2 separate regions of the Homo sapiens genome follow, and region 1 is linked to region 2. The links are contacts of gene promoters, found by promoter capture Hi-C in human tissues and cell types (Jung and others, 2019). All regions are on one chromosome and are shown on one strand. The core of a region is centred on a gene start or on the middle of the fragment in contact, and the rest is flanking DNA. Distances in the headings are between cores, read along the strand shown. Region 1 overlaps SLC31A1 (solute carrier family 31 member 1). Region 2 holds the start of WDR31 (WD repeat domain 31).

Evidence for each region. Contacts are between HindIII fragments. The study calls those that stand out against the background at their distance.
Region 1: a fragment that was not itself captured here is called in contact with the fragment with the promoter of WDR31 in region 2 in 2 of the 25 tissues and cell types used here (bladder and pancreas).

What each region holds. Positions count from the first base shown.
Region 1 is chr9:113,225,575-113,230,109 of GRCh38, forward strand. The region is part of intron 1 of SLC31A1 (solute carrier family 31 member 1); the gene reads left to right. Among named protein-coding and RNA genes, the nearest start is that of SLC31A1, 6.3 kb to the left of the region's middle. The HindIII fragment of the contact is 3,999 bases long and covers 737-4,535 here.
Region 2 is chr9:113,337,825-113,342,537 of GRCh38, forward strand. WDR31 (WD repeat domain 31) reads right to left here and starts at 2,451. Exons shown (of 11, transcript NM_001012361.4): 1 at 2,393-2,451. RefSeq lists a silencer at 2,221-2,460. The HindIII fragment of the contact is 4,545 bases long and covers 2,058-4,713 here.

The DNA of each region.
Region 1 (4,535 bases), core at 1,486-3,985, 110 kb before region 2:
CAATTCAGCTTTCCTTTGGATTATAATCTCAATTTTGAATTGAGAAAAATAAAGTTTCCATACTAAATGTGAATAAAATGAAATGACTGTTTTGAAAGTAGATACCATACTCATAAGAGTCTTTGATTCCTAAGTCTTTCTCTACCTCTTTTGTCCAACTTGGAAGTCTTGGTAGAGAAGGACTTAGGAATCAGAGACTCATCTCTACTGTTAATTCCTTTTTGCACCTTTCCCACCAGAAGTGCTACAAGAGAGAAAGATGATATAATAATCACTAGAAAAGCAAAGTGTTCGGCCAGGTGTGGTGGCTCCCGCCTGTAATCCCAGCTCAGGCAGATCACCTGAGGTCAGGAGTTCGAGACCAGCCTGGCCAACATGGTGAAACCCCGTGTCTGCTGAAAATACAAAAATTAGTCAGGCATGGTGGCGGGCACCTGTAGTCCCAGCTACTCAGGAGACGGAGGCACGAGAATTGCTTGAGCTCCGGAGAGGCGGAGGTTGCAGTGAGCTGAGGTCACGCCACTGTGCGCCAACCTGGGCGACAGAGTGAGACTCCATCTCAAAAAAAAAAAAAAAGAAATAAAGAAAGCAAAGTGTTTACAGTGACAAGTTGATTTCAACTAGCAGTTGTCAGTTAAGTTAGTAACAGGGCATCACCCAAATAACTGCATTTTAAAGTGGACAGGGCAGGCCTGACTGGGGAAAAGGGAGGGAAGGGGTAGGGGGTTCCTGATGCCTGTACTCCCACATGCAGCTCTTAAATCCATTTTAAAAACTTAAAAGTTTTCTGTAGTTTTGTGACTTAAGTATAACAAGTCATCAAAAGTCTGATACTTAATACATTACAATGAACAGTTTATGCCAAAAGAAATCTTATAGTAGGGCCTGGGAAGGAAATGCTTTTGAAGTTCCATTGCTTTGAGTAATATCATTTTATGATTTAGGTAACATCCCCAAGCAGAGGAGGGGCCCATCCTTAGGAATGCAAAGCCCTGCAGAGAAGGAAAGGGTTGAGAAGGGTCCACCCTACCTCTTTTCCTTTACACAATGGCCCTAGGCTTTTGTATACAACCTGCTTTTGTAGGCTTAGGACATTATGAAATACAGCATGGTAAGATGGAAGCCTGAATCTCAAAAGTAAATATGAGAAATGATTTGGAGGGAACATATAAAGAGAGCAAAATTCTAGCAACAGGTGACATATTTCCCTAGATAGAAGAGTTATTGTAGAACTATGATGAGTGTTTATATAATTTTGAAGCAGTTTACAGCATCTAGAATGTAGTCATTTAATTTATGAAATGAAAGGGAAATGGTGTAACTCATACACCCGCATCCTCTCTCCTACCTTTTCTGATGGCTTTTTATGAGTTCTCACACAACCCCTATGCATAATCTATACCTTAGTACATTTTACATTATTTTTAAATTATTTACATGTGTCCCTCTTTCACCAGAATGGGTTTCTTATGGTTAGAGTTTCATCATGGTACCTTCATTCGATAGGTATGCAATAAATAGTGAAAGAATAGTCTGAGTTCCTTGAAATTGCATAGCAAATGAGACCTAAGAGCCAGATCTAGAATGCAGATGTAGAACCTCTTTCAGTTCCTAGCCCAGTACTTTTACTGCCACACCATACAGCCTCTATCTGAGATATTGAACAATTTTTTTCTTTTTTCTTTTATTTTTTCTTGAAACAGGATCTTGCTTTGTTGCCCAGGCTGGAGTGCAGGAGCACAATCTCAGCTCACTGCAACCTCTGTCTCCCAGGCTCAAGCAATCTTCCCATCTCAGCCTTTCGAGTAGCCGGGACTACAGGCATGCACCACCACGCCCAGCTAATTTTTTGTATTTTTGATAGAGTCGGGGCTTTGCCATGTTGCCCAGGCTGGTCTCAAACTCCTGAGCTTAAGCAGTCTGCCCACCTTGGCCTCTTAGAGTGCTGGGATTACAGGCATGAGCCACCATGTCCAGCCTCATTTGCATTCTTGTACTGCATTTTCATTAAATCATTCAAGTTCCTTTTATCTTGTGTAACATATTTAATTGCATTTTCCTACTGAATAAAAAAAAGGGAACAGTTCAAATGTTTTCTAGTTTCTGTCTTATGCCATATTAATTTCCAATATTACTCATAGGCAAACCAACAACATTATTATCCAAACAGTTTAAATGCTATGTAATATAACTAAAGCAAAGTTTAGACAAGGAGGACCATTGTCTACATTTGATTATAACAATAAAGCAGTTAAAGCAATGCTTTGCCAATGTATATTTGTCTGACTAGCTAGTTTTGTTTAAATCAAACTGTGAAAGGCTGTATACTTCAAGAAACATGAAAGTGAGCCTTATGTGTGACTTAGTTCCTTTCAGAGATTAATTTTGTCATCTAATGAGCAAGCAAGCTATTATATTTCATATTTACTGTACCTTAAAATTGGAAAGTATTTAACATATTTTATTTGACCCTTACAATACTATGAGATTGGCAGCGTAGGTATTTTAATATCTGTTTTGCAAATTTTGCAAATTTTGGTGATTTGCCTAATGTCACATGGCTAGTATATGGCAAATGTGGGTCCAGAGCTCAGAGCCTTTGATGCCTCGTGCTGCATGCTTTCTCCACTCTAAGATACTATCTAGAAAACACTGAAATTGTCACATAAATCATACTAAAGCACAGTTAGCGGACTGGAAGTGCGTCAAGGCTACAAAAGGATCCTGTAAGAGGAGCATGAAAGGGTGCATCATGTGATTACATTATTCCAGGATGTGGCTTACCCAACAACAAAAGGTATCACAGAAATGGAGTAAAGTAGCTGGGAGATCCACTCCCCATTGGACTTAGGCCCTGTTATCATTACATAACTAAAAGACCTTTTCAGTTTGTTTGTTTGACATATCAAATTTGAGTTGTCCTATTAGAACCAGGCAAATAAAAGCTTTTGTAAAGGCCTTTGGAAGAATGTAGTTGTACACTTGATCTTCTTTGTACAGAAGGGTGGGAGTGGGCAAGAGAAATAGGAGCTTCTATGTTATTTGCCACCAGAACAGGATATGTAAAGCTCAGAAACCCATCCTGCTTAGCTGCTTCCCAGCAAGCCATCCGGAGAAATGGGGCTGGAGAAAGCGGTTAGTCTAGTGTTATGGAGCCTTCTATCAGAAGCAGATGTTATGGATTCACCTAACTAAAGAATGTTAGTGTCATCATTTAATAACATAAGCCTCAGTTTCCACATCTGTAAAATAAAGGAGTTGGATTTGATGATACTTTTTTTTTTCTTTTGAGTTGGAGTTTCGCTCTTGTTGCCCAGGCTGAAGTGCAATAGTGTGATCTCGGCTCATTGCAACCTCTGCCTCCTGGGTTCAAGTGATTCTCCTGCCTTAGCCTCCCTAGTATCTGGGATTACAGGCATGTGCCACCACGACCGGCTGATTTTATATTTTTAGTAGAGATGGCGTTTCTCCATGTTGGTCAGGCTGGTCTTGAACTCCTGACCTCAGGTGATCCGCCCGCCATGGCCTCCCAAAGTGCTGGGATTATAGGCGTGATCCACTGCGCCTGACTGATAATTTAATTTTTTAAATAGGAAATATATTCATATGGTTTGTAATTCAAAAAGTACACAAGGATATTCAGTGAAAAGTATTTCATTTACTCCTACCCACTTCTGACCAGCTCTCCTTAGGGACCACGGTCCTATTTTGCCTCCCAGGCTCAACCAACAACTTTGTTGTTTCCCCCCAACTCCCCTGCAGATAGTATAGGTGTATAAAAATAACATGAACATACTCTGTTTCCTTTTTAAGTTTTTTACAAATTATAGCATACAGTATATTCTGCTTTTATTTCATTTCATAATACGTCTTACAGATCATTCTATATCAATATATATGATCGTTCTCATTCTTATTCTGCTAAGTATTCCATTGTATGAAAATATGATAACTCATTTAATCAGTGCCCTATCAATGAACATTTAGGTTGTATTTTTAATATTTTGCTATTACAAACACTCCTGTTATAAGTAACTTTGTACATACACATTTCACATATGTGCCAGTTTATCTGTAGAATGAATATTTAGAAGTGGGATTACTGTGTTAAAGAATGTGGGCAGACTGATGACTGTTCTAGTTTTGATCTTCTATGAGACTTTAACTGAAAATGATTAGTGGAAAAGAAAAAGTATCATTTTCTTGGTAATATCTTAATTTTTATCTCTTACTATTCAGAACTAAGTCTTAAGTAAGAGCCAAGAATAGGTAATCTCTCCAAAATTATGTTGAATTGCAGACTTCACTAAAGTCACCTGCATCATGGTCTTGTAGATTTTTCTATTGCTTTTCAGTATAATACTATTCAAGCTATTTGCAAGGTGAATATTATAAACTCAGAACAAAAGGAGACTGTCTCCCAACTATGTTTACTAGCATTTACCAAGTAGAGGATTCAGAAGATTTGCTCTTTATTACAATTTATGTAGGGAGTGAAGATGGAAAGATGAAACAAAGAGAGCCTAACAAATATC
Region 2 (4,713 bases), core at 1,201-3,700:
AATGCAAATATTCTAAAATCTGAAATTTGAAACACTTCTGGTCCCAAACATTTCAGATAAGGGATACTCAACCTGTATGGCCATTTTGCAGATGTGAAAAGTGAGGCACAGAGATATCAAATAGTTTGCTCAAGTTTATACTGCAAATAAGTGGCAGAGCTGAAACTTGAATCCAGGCAGTCCAACTCCAGAGGCCCTGTTCTTGACCAGCATATTATACTGCATCTCTACAAAAGCTGGTGCATATAAAGCTTTTGGTTCAATCTGGCAAGTTGTTAACAATAAATTATGGTTACTAGCATGATTGCAAGATTAACAGTGATCATACTGGAAGCAGCATTTTCACCCTTGTTAATACTGTTCATAATGCACAAATATTAATGCACAAATATACACAGAGAACACATACAAACGGATATATGAATCTAGAGGATATTAAAGCTGAAGCAAATTATGGCCTCTGATCAGAGTGATTGGACCCAATAAAGCTAAGAATTCATTATGTTACATAGCAAGGCAATTAAAAAGTCTCAAGAACAAAGTATATGAATTTGGGTTATATCTACGTTGTTGTAATTTATCATGAGTAGAATAAGAAATAAAAGTACTACTAAGTTATCTTCCACTATTTTTATTAGGAACATGTAATATACTTGAGAGGAGGTATAATTTCTGGTTCATTTTTGTATCTATGATTTGACCTTAGCCTAGGAGAATGAACGCAAGGCAAATAAATACCTGTTGAATGAGTGAATGGAATACTAAGATGAAGAGTCGGCTTGGTGGTACGCTATTTTTTTTTTTTTTTTCTGAGATGGAGTTTCTCTCTTGTTGCCCAGGCTGGAGTGCAATGGCACCATCTCAGCTCATCACAACCTCCACCTCCCAGGTTCAAGCGATTCTCCAGCCTCAGCTTCCTGAGTAGCTGGGATTACAGGCGCCTGCCACCACGCCCAGCTAATTTTGTGTTTTTAGTAGAGACAGGATTTCTCCATATTAGTCAGGCTGGTCTCGAACTCCCGATCTCAGTTGATCCGCCCACCTTGGCCTCCCAAAATGCTGGGATTACAGGTGTGAGCCACCGTGCCCGGCCCAGTGGTACACTTTTTAGGGACCCAACAACATAAGCGCCCTTTTAACCTGCCCAACAACATATCCCTTAGAGAGCAGTCACCCTGTTTCATCCCAGGCTCCAGACCCAGAAAGGCTGGAGAGGACATGGGAAAATCTACAGATTCAGTTATGGCTCTGGATGTCCCTGTTGGTTCCAGTTGGAACCAGGCCTCGGTCTGAATCCCATCACTTCTTTCTATTCCAATCTGCTTTCCAAAGGCCTTGGGATATCCAGTAGTCACTCTAAACCACCCTAAACAGAAAGCAGAGAATTCTCTTTTAACTCTCCAGTGCAATATTCCTTGATATACACCAGTACCTATCCGACTGTTCTATTCCATGAAGAAACTGGGACTCAGAGGGCTGTGACTTGCTGAAGGTCACAGGGGCAGAGCCGGGTGGACTGGACCTTATTTCCCTGGTCCCGTTAATGCAAATGCTGATATCTTATCTCCCTCCGTCTCCCCAAATCTCCCTCTGCACACTTCTGTCTTACACTCTGGGAGACCAAGGCATCTTTAGTCGCCAAAACAATGCTCAAAGAAAGAAAAGTATGAGTAGAAACACCTGGAAGCTGGTCTGGTTCGACCCTCTAATGGTACAGATAGGGGAAACCGAGGCCCAGGGAATAAGAGGGTCTTGCCTAGAGTCACACAGGGAGCCAGTTCTAGGCCACCACTCTCACGGTTGCCTCAAATTTTGGGGACGACTTGTGTGCAGTTTTTCCTTTCTGTCGCTTCAGATGGCAAATGCTCCTCTCCCTGCCCATTATATGAACAACTAAAGCTTAATTTGTTTTTGTTTTTGTTTTCAAGAGACGGAGTCTCGAGTCTCGCTCTGTCACCCAGGCTGGAGTGCAGTGGCGCGATCTCGGCTCACTGCAACCTCCGCCTCCCGGGTTCTAGCAGTTCTCCTGCTTCAGCTTCCCAAGTAGCTACAGGCGCACGGCACCACTCCCGGCTAATTTTTTGTATTTTAGTAGAGACAGGGTTTCACTGTGTTGCCCAGGATGGTCTCGAACTCCTGAGCTCAGGCAATCCACCCGCCTCGGCCTCCCACAGTGCTAGGATTCCAGGCGTGAGCCACCGCGCCCGGCCTAAAGCTTATTTTTTATGTGTATGTGGAAAGCGGGGAGAAGAGTCCCCGAAGATGGGAACCTAGCGCCACCCAGCCCAAGGTTGGCCCTCATAACCGCTCTCCGCTTCGACCAAAGGGCGAGGGTTGCCCGCTCCTAGTCTGCCGCTATGCCCCTTTCTCCCACCTCAGGCTCAGTACCCACCGGTGGGCTGCGGGGCTGGAGCTGGGGCCGGCGGGAACGCGGAGCCTGGGGGTGGGAACAGCCTCCGAGCCCTCCCGCGCCTCCGCCCCTAGCAGCAGGCGCACGTTGCTAGGGCGGGAGTGCTGGAGAAAAGCCTCCGGGCACCCTCGCAGGCCGCCGAACCGCAGTTCCGTTCGCCTAAAGCTGGGACGGGAACTGAGCGCCCGGCGCTACTCTCTTCGTGATCAGGTCCAGAGGAGAGGACGCTTGTGCCCAGGACTCCGCTGCCAGAAGAATCTAGACAATCCAAGCAAAACGGGTACCTTTGTAATAGCTATGGAGAAAGCACTTAATAAAGGTCATCTTTTAAATTATTGGTCGCTCAGACATACGTGTTGCCGTATTTCTTTGGAGTTTCCCTGATTTCGACTAGAAATTCCTCCTTTGGACACTCCCCCAGCTCCCCACTCCTCTATTCCTTTCGTTTTTTTTTTTTCATTGAACCATTACAGCCTAGTACCATAGCAAGAAGAGACCCCTCAGTACCTTCTTGAGATCCAAATGGGAAGACAGTTGTAGAAACACAGTTTTTACAGCTGCGGTCGCATTGCTACCAGACTAGAGTCTATTCATCTCCGTATTCCTGGTGCACAGTATGGGGCTTGGTATATAGTAGGGGCTTGTTGAATGTTTGTTGAATGAATCAATGGCAGGGATCCTAGCCAACATTTATTTATTTTTAAGACGGAGTCTTGCTCTGTCGTCCAGGCTGAAGTGCAGTCGCGCGATCTCGGCTCACTGCAACCTCTGCCTCCCAGGTTCAAGCGATTCTCCTGCCTCAGCCTCCCAAGTAGCTGGGACTACAAGTGCGCGCCTCCATGCCCGGCTAATTCTTGTATTTTTAGTAGAGATGGGGTTTCATCATGTTGGCCAGGCTGGTCTCGAACTCCTGATCTCAGGTGATCCACCTGCCACAGCCTCCAAAAGTGCTGGGATTACAGGCATGAGCCTCCGCGCCCGGCCCCAACATTTATTTTGAACCCTAGTAGGTGCCTCTGCAGTGTTGATCTGGCAAAACAGCCTTCAATGAAGATTTGTGGAGTTTCTGAAAATTGGGTGCCTTTGAGGGGGTGGGAATGGTGAGAGAAGTTTGCCTCCACATACTGGCTATTGGGTCTGTTTTCCAGTCCAGGGAAGGGATCCCCTCCATGGCATCCCTGATGAAGTATCTGTAGCCCTAGTTGATGCTCACTCTGTAATGATGGGCTGATTACTTTCTAAGCTAGTGACCTATTGTTGGGAGATTTCCTTCTGGCAGGAGAAAGTATCTACCCGTATGCCACTTGAAACTCTGATCTTCGCTCAGAACCAATGGCTCTCCTTACAGACTTAATCCCTTTCCCCCACAACAGCCTGGCAAGCTACAACCAGGATAGACTCACTGCTTTGTCCTGGGACACTGGGCTAGGCTCAGTGCAGCTACAGAGGTGAGTTACTAGATCTCTGCACCCAAGATGTTCCTGCTCTGGGGATGTTTTTCCCTCTGAGAGAGAGGCTTTAGGCTTCAGGCACGAAAGACTCCCAAACTGGTACCTGTAGCCAGGCCTCTCCCTGAGTCGGACCTGTATATCCACCTGCCACCCGCCCATCTGCAACTGGCAGTTTAAAAGACACCTCATTCTTGACATGACTCATACTGGAAACATCATCTTCCCCTCAAACCTGTTCCCCCTCTTTTCCCTGTAAGTGCTGGGCACTACCATTCACCAATCACCCAAGCCAAGGATCTAGGAGTCATTTGTAACTTTACCCTTGCTTCCTCGTTCAAGAACAATCCCCGAGACTTCTCAATTCTGCCTCCCAAACATTATAAAAATAAAAACCTTCTCTCTACCTACCAGCTGGATTCAGGCCAACATCAGGGTGTGATAGATTAAAAACGACCACAACTTCTTTGTAGCTCTTCCCATCAAGGCTGGCTTTGTAACTTGTTTTGACCAATAGAATGCAGCAGGAGTGACATCGTGGGACTTCTGAGTTTAAGCTTCAAAAGGCCTTGCAGTTTCTGCTCCCATCCTCTTGGCACACTGCCAGCATGGGAAGAGGACCAGGCTAGTCTGTTTCAGAGACATGGCCCATCCAATAGCTAGCACCAAATGCCAGCCATGTGAGTGACTGTTGCCCATGCTGGAGTGCAGTGGTGCGATCTCGGCTCACTGCAACCTCCGCCTCCTTGGTTCAAGCGATTCTCCTGCCTCAGCCTCCTAAGTAGCTGGGATTACAGGTGCGTGCCCCCACATCCCGGCTGATTCTCGTATTTTTAGTAGAGACGGGGTTTCACC